2 separate regions of the Homo sapiens genome follow, and region 1 is linked to region 2. The links are contacts of gene promoters, found by promoter capture Hi-C in human tissues and cell types (Jung and others, 2019). All regions are on one chromosome and are shown on one strand. The core of a region is centred on a gene start or on the middle of the fragment in contact, and the rest is flanking DNA. Distances in the headings are between cores, read along the strand shown. Region 1 overlaps LOC105370673 (a long non-coding RNA gene). Region 2 holds the start of HHIPL1 (HHIP like 1).

Region 1 (3,612 bases), core at 600-3,099, 1.9 Mb after region 2:
TGAGGACATCTAGAATCAGGAGGTGGGGGAGGGGCTCGGACAGGTTTCAGGGATGGCTAGGGAGCCAGCTGTCTGCCTCCACATTGGCACCAGCGGTCCAGAGCTGTGGGCAGGAAGCCTGGAGGAACTGAGAGGGGCGGGGGGCCCTGTTAGGAGACACGGGAGAAGGGAGGGAGCCGGGCATTGCATTCCTGGAAAGGGGCCCTTGGTCCATACCCCCCCAGACCCCCATGGCCCCAGCATTGTAGCCACAGCTCAGCCAGCCACCCCCGCCAGCCCTCCCACGGCAGGCCTTCCTGGCCATCCCCTGAACCGCGTGGGCCCGTGCTGCCAGGCTGCCCGGACTGGCCAGCTGAGCTAGGGATCATTTCCTGGACCCATTAATCACTGGATCGGGTTCCATGTCGGCAACAATAGCTCAACCCCAGGCCAGTTGGCCTCCGAGTCTGTCGACCCCCGCTCTGATGCCCCAGCTCTCCAGGTCTTGATCAAGGCGGTGGGGTTAAAAGTGGCCATCGTGACTGTGTGCTGCCCACTTACTGTGTGCAGGGCCTGGGAGATCCCAGAAGAGAATGAGGCCAGTGCCCAGTGAGGACCCGGGGGCTCATGTGGGACAGGGAGCTAGCAGGGATGTCTAACACACAGCAGCACCCACAGCTCGCAGGAGGGGCTGATACTCACCAACCCCACTCTGCCGTTACCTCCCTCCCCAAAACCCACATGTCTGATGCCCATGGCCCTCCACCAATAAAATACCGGAAAGGGAAAGGAAGGAAGAGGCTGCAAGTTCATCTGATGTCCAGACACTGGGTGTGGCAAGTTTCCCAGCAAGTGAGCTCACAGTTGGGAGTGGAAGCCCCCATCCTTCGGACCAAGGTCTTGAGAGCTGCAGCCTCAGGTGCCAGCCACGGCCATCACCCCTGCAGTCCACAGCTGCTGCCAGACAGTCTGAACTCCTGAGCGGAGTCTTGAGTCTCCGGGTGGGAGCAGAGCTGTTCTGGATGGCCAGTCTCTTCTAAGCAGGGTCTACAGAATCGTCCGTGGTGGGCAGTAGCCACTGTGGCAGGGCCTCCAGAGTGCAAGTGCTCAGATTTGTCCAGAAGCCCTGCCGGCCTCCAGAATCCTCAGGTGTGGAGGACATGGCATCTGCAGGCCTCGAAGGAGAGCAGGATGGAAGGGCAGGGGTTCCACTTCAGGTGTAAAGCACAGCCCAGGCAAAGCCAGGAGAAGGAGCTGTGCCCAGTTGAGAACCGGTGTTGTGGGCACACAGAGAGGGCTGCGGCTCGTGACAATGTGAGCAGTGGAGTCTGGGGCAGGGTCCCAGCGCCGTGGGCCCAGGAAGATCCCAGGAATGCTTGCACTATCCCGGAAGTGTTCCTTTGGGGCAGTGTGGGGTGGCAGGGCCTTCCTCCTAACAGGGCTGCCACCAGATATGTGCATGTCAGGCCTCAGTGCCCTTGTACTTGGGCACACGGAAGCCCAGAGAGACAAAGCATTTCCCCAAGGCCACCCAGGGCCCTCGCCACAGAACTGGTCCCCACATGTTCTCCCAGATAGACGCTGCAGCCATCTGACCTGGCCATCTTGCTCAGCTTGTCTGAGGGGCAGGATCTCACAGGCAACAACCACACAGTTAGCGACTAAGGCAGTCACCAGCCCCTGTGATGCCTCTGTGATACTTAGAGAAAGGCACCTCCCCCAGGAGGAGGTAGCCCCCCTGGGGCCCACAGGAATGTGGGGATGGGCTGCATCCAGTGCCCTCACCCCTGGCTCAGCACACCCCCACAGTAAGAATCCTGCCACGGTGGCGGCTGTATTTTAATGCTTACCATGCAGCAAGGCCTTGACGGTGCTTCCACAGGGCCCACCTGTGTACTGGATTCTGCTTGTTCAGGAGTGATTATATGAGCAAAGTTTGTCTCCCTGTAAGCAATGTGCAGGAGGATCCGGTTGTGTTTTGCTCAGCTGTGTATCCCAGCAACAAGTGTGCCCAGTAACAAACACTCCACAAACACCTATAGAACGAAGGGTCTCTTTTAGCCCTAATCAACCCCATTGTACAAATGAGGTTGGAGAGTTGACATGACTTGCCCCATTCATGCAGCTGCAAGTGGGGGGGCTGGAACTCCCAAAACCACCTCTTCCAGACCCACCTGAGATCCCTCTGCTGACGGGGGCAGCCTCCCAGCCAGCAAGAAAGAGAGCCCTGTTCTACCGTTGACTTGTGATGTCCCTACTCATCCCTGAGCCTCAGTTTCCCCTTCCATAATACAAGATGTTTCAGCCCAGTCATGTCCAATATCTTTTCCTGAGACTCTGCACTCTACAGTTTGAAACCGGAATACTAAACCTACAGCATGCATGCCCTAGCTTGTACCCTCCGTACTCATGGCAGACATCATCAATCAATCACCAATCAATCTTTCTCACTAAGCTCATATTAAACAACAGAATCCTTCTCCACATAGTGTACAGGGCAACCATTGGATCAAAAATGACACATAAGATAAAACCTCTCAGCTGGCCAACATGGTGAAACCCCATCTCTACTAAAAATACAAAAATTAGCCAGGCGTGGTGGTGCATGCCTGTAATCCCAGCTACTCAGGAGGCTGAGACAGGAGAATCACTTGAACCTGGGAGGTGGAGGTTGCAGTGAACTGAGATCGTGCCACTGCACGCCAGCCTGGGCAACAGAGCAAGACTGTCTCAAAAAAAAAAAAAAAAAAAAAAAAGATAAAACCTCTCTACCATCTCTGGCCTTCCCAAGGGAAGTCTCGGTGAATGGTGACTTCTGACTCCTGCTGGCAAGGAGCCCCAGGCTACACTGCATCCATGCCTGTCTCCCCATCAGACCCAGAGCCCCATGACCCAGCCACAAGACCCAGGCCCTGCATGCACCCTCAGAAAAGCTTGCCAAATTGTTGTCTCTGATGATTCCTTATTTCTGAGTGTGTTTAATGCTAACACCTCCTTAAGTATGAACTCAGATTTCATCTCGTCTGGAAATCCCCCTAAGATTTCCTCTCCTGTGTGAGTTAGGGATCCCTGTTGTGCCTCTTCTAACAGTCCTGCTCTCCTTCAGCTGATCAACAAACACACAGTGTTGTATTTAGGTCGGTGCAAAAATCATTGCGGTTTTTGCCATTAATTTTTTTTTTTTTTTTTTTTTTTTTTTTTTTTTGAGACGGAGTCTCGCTCTGTCGCCCAGGCCGGACTGCGGACTGCAGTGGCGCAATCTCGGCTCACTGCAAGCTCCGCTTCCCGGGTTCACGCCATTCTCCTGCCTCAGCCTCCCGAGTAGCTGGGACTACAGGCGCCCGCCACCGCGCCCGGCTAATTTTTTTTTTGTATTTTTAGTAGAGACGGGGTTTCACCTTGTTAGCCAGGATGGTCTCGATCTCCTGACCTCATGATCCACCCGCCTCGGCCTCCCAAAGTGCTGGGATTACAGGCGTGAGCCACCGCGCCCGGCCTTTGCCATTACTTTCAACGGCAAAAACCGCAATGAATTTTGCACCGACCTAAGTGTTTGAGTCTGTGAAGACACTGCGACCGTTCTCCAAGCCCAAAACCCAGGCTAGAGGAAGGTGAGTGAGCCTGCAGTGAGTG
Region 2 (3,495 bases), core at 958-3,457:
TGTCAACTTTTTCCACCAGAGCCCTTAACATATTAGTCATAGTTATTTTAAATTCCATGTCTGGTAATTTCAGCATCTGTGTCATGTCCCAGGCTGGCTCTGATGCTCCTTCTGACTGACTTTTTTTTTTCTTTTTTGAGACAGAGTCTCGCTCTGTCACCCAGGCTGGAGTGCAATGGCACGATCTCAGCTCACTACAGCCTCCGCCTCCTGGGTTCAAGCGATTCTCATGCCTCAGCCTCCCAGTAGCTGGGATTATAGGCGCGTGCCACCACGCCTGGCTAATTTTTGTATTTTTAGTAGAGACGAGATTTCACCATGTTGACCAGGCTGGTTTCGAACTCCTGACCTCGGGTGATCCGCCCGCCTCAGCCTCCCAAAGTTCTGGGATTACAGGCGTGAGCCACTGTGCCCGGCTCCTGACTGTGACTTTTCTTATCTTTTTTTCATGCCTTGTTGTTTTTCTGGAAAGCCAATCAGGATGTACTAGATAACAGAAACCGAGGTAAATAGGTATTAGGGTGAGGATTTATGTTACTCTGGCTGGGGCTGGGCTGTGTTTGACATTTTCTGTGGCTGTAGGAGCCCAAACCTCATGGCTGTGGCCCAGGCTCTGTGTCACTTCCACCTCTGTACACTCATCTGGAGCCCTGTGTTGATGTGTGACTATCACCCAGTTCTGAGTCCCAGCTGGGAAGTAGGCGCCATCGTGCCCTCCGATTCCATCCTGGCTCTGCCTATTCCCAGCTGTCTGTGCAGGAAGCCGTTGCAGGCCGCATTTCCCACCCTAGCAGCCCTCTGCTAGGTTCAGCCAATGAAAGCCACAGGTGGGAGTTGGAGGGGAAGTGGCAGGGAGAAGCCGGGGTATTTCTCCTCCTCTGTCTGTGCAGAATCTCTGACAGTGGCTATCTCCAGCTGTGGCCAGACAGGCCTTGTGAGGGTCCAGCTTTGACAAGGTGACCATAGCTCCTTGGCTCCAGTAACATCTGCTCTTCCTGCATCAAGGACCTGGGGACTGTTCCTACTGTTGCTGATCTCAAGGTTACTTCACTGAGCCCTGTATGGCTTCTTAGCCTCTTTGGCTTCAAGTCCCTGCGTTAAATTCCCCGTGTTTCAAATACTCAGAGATGTTTGGCTGTGCGGAGACCCTGACTCTTACACTGCACCTGTTCAGGCCAGAGCCACAGACCTCTGAGTGCTCCAGCCCTGCCGCATCTCATCCACCCCCAGCTCTGCCAGGAGCATGGGCCCAAAGACAGAAACATGATCCCCCAGGACAGTCCAAAGAGACCTGCAGAGGACGGATGTGTGCGTTGGGGCCATGAAGATGGAGTAGGAGCTCACTGGACAGAGAAGATGGGGAAGGACACTCCAGGGAGAAGCAAACGCTGAGGTCCACTTGAGAAAAATGCCTGGGTGGTTTTGGTGCTGTGAGATTCTAGGGTAGGTGAGACAGTGTGTGTGTGTTTGTCTGTGTGGGTGGTTTTGGTGCCATGAGATTCTGGGGTAGGTAAGACAGCGTGTGTGCGTCTGTATGTGTGTGGGGGGGTGGGGCGGGGTTGGGTCTGAATCTCCAGCGGGGGCAGCGGAACAAAGGGCTGGATGCCCATCCCAGGAGGTAGATTCATCAGTGCTCCCTATGCGAGAGTGGAAGTGGGGAGCCCCAGTGGGTCCTGGGCTGCAGGAGAATCCGCTGCCCCAGGAGCAGAGACTGGGAAGAAGCCCACAGTAAGGGCAAAGGGTGGACTGCGGAGACTGCTCCGTCCTCCCTCCCCACCCCTACGCCAGGTTTCACTTCTCCCTGAGAGTCCTGGGGCAACACCCCCTGTTCTTTCCCTCGCACCCCCATTTTTAAAATGTTACGTGGGAGCTTTCGGGGACGGGCTGCGGGCATCCGTTTCCCTAGCCCAGTGGGAGGTGGAACCGAAGCCCAGGAGTCCAGGCCTCTGGCCCTGCGCCTCCCTGGCTAAAGAGCGCCCTGTGGGGAGGAAGCAGGGCCCCAGGCGGAACCGGGAAAACACACCGGGGCTTTAAACAGACCGGGCCACTCCCATCGAATTTGGAAAGCGGTTAAAAGAGGTCGTGCCGCATTCTGCGCCGCGTCCCTCTTCCTTCAGTCCCGCCGAGTGTCCCCGACCAGAGGTGACCTCCTAGAAGGGGAGGTCCCCAAACTCGAGGCCCTGCGTGTAGGGAAGGGGAGCGCCCGCCCCTTCCCTGCCGCCGCGAGCGCCCCGGGAGGGGACCGGGGCTGCCGTCCCTCCGCCTCTTCCCCCGCGGGGCGTAGCGATGGCCCGGGCCAGGGCCGGGGCGCTGCTGGCGCTTTGGGTGCTCGGGGCCGCCGCGCATCCGCAGTGCCTGGACTTCAGGCCGCCCTTCCGGCCGACGCAGCCGCTGCGCCTCTGCGCGCAGTACTCGGACTTCGGCTGCTGCGATGAGGGGCGCGACGCCGAGCTGACCCGCCGCTTCTGGGCCCTGGCGAGCCGCGTGGACGCCGCCGAGTGGGCCGCGTGCGCCGGCTACGCGAGGGACCTGCTGTGCCAGGTGAGCGGGCGCGCGGCCACCGGGCGGGGCGGGGCGCGGGAGGCCGAGTCCTGGAGCAGAGATCGGAACCCCGCGGGGGCGAGGGCCAAGAGTGGGCGGCGGACTCGGGAACTCTAAGCCCCAACAGGGAGTCATTTGGCACGGGGCGGGGAGACCGCGCATCCCAGGACGACTCTTGGCTTTGCCATTCATTAGTTTTGTGACTTGGGCCTTCTCGGGGCCTCAGTTTCCCCTCCTGAAGCAGGAAGGACGGACGGACGGACAGATGATGTCATCATTTCCTCAGAGGTTGGGGGCTCTTCTGCCCCAGTCCCCTGGAGTCGACCCCTCAGCGTCCCACCCCGAGCAGCTGCACCCTTGTCGGGGTACCAAGGTGGAGAGGCATCTGTCCCGGTCAGTGCTCCTTTGTGTTGTCCCCGGGGCAGTGAAAGCAGGGGGCCCTGGCGTGGGCGTGGTCAACGTGTGGCCCGGGTTTGTTGAGGGGGTTGGGGCCACTGTCCCCCACGAGCGTCTCACCCCCATCCTGATGCCCTTGCCACTTCCGCCACCACCTCTGTGGGTGCTGTGCCCTCTCCTGGGGATGGCGCCCTGGCCTGCAGAAGCTCTCTCAAGACTGAGCGACAGCTCTTTGTTGAAGCCCCTGGGCCCCCCATCTTCCCTCTGAGGGTGGAGCCCCTGCTTCTGTGCACACCTGGTGGTGCCACCGCTATTTGTTTTCCTCTTGTGGGAGTCTGAGGCCCCAGGGCCTGACCACACCCAAGTGGGCAAATGTTGCCTGGCTGAATGCAGAAATGGAGCAGGACGGGCAGCCCCAAGGCATTCCTGCCTCAGCATCTGGGCAGTGAGAGGCCTGGGGTGGAGAGGCCCCAGGGGCCAGGGCCGTGTCCCAGCCTTCGGCCAGCAGGGGCAGGTGGTGTGGGGAAGGGCAAGAAGGCTGACTTGGAGTTGGAGTTT

Evidence for each region. The method cuts DNA at HindIII sites, captures the fragments that hold promoters and counts their contacts. A contact is called where the count stands out against the background at its distance.
Region 1: a contact is called between a fragment that was not itself captured here and the fragment with the promoter of HHIPL1 in region 2, in 1 of the 25 tissues and cell types used here (pancreas).

The regions. Positions count from the first base shown.
Region 1 is chr14:101,521,390-101,525,001 of GRCh38, forward strand. It overlaps LOC105370673 (a long non-coding RNA gene), which reads right to left. Exons shown (of 7, transcript XR_944222.2): 6 at 1,830-2,015; 7 at 314-1,420. Among named protein-coding and RNA genes, the nearest start is that of DIO3OS, 37 kb to the right of the region's middle. RefSeq lists enhancers at 881-1,412, 1,413-1,943. The HindIII fragment of the contact is 3,867 bases long and covers 1-3,612 here.
Region 2 is chr14:99,642,922-99,646,416 of GRCh38, forward strand. It overlaps HHIPL1 (HHIP like 1), which reads left to right and starts at 2,208. Exons shown (of 9, transcript NM_001127258.3): 1 at 2,208-2,541. The coding sequence starts at 2,287. The HindIII fragment of the contact is 28,378 bases long and covers 1-3,495 here.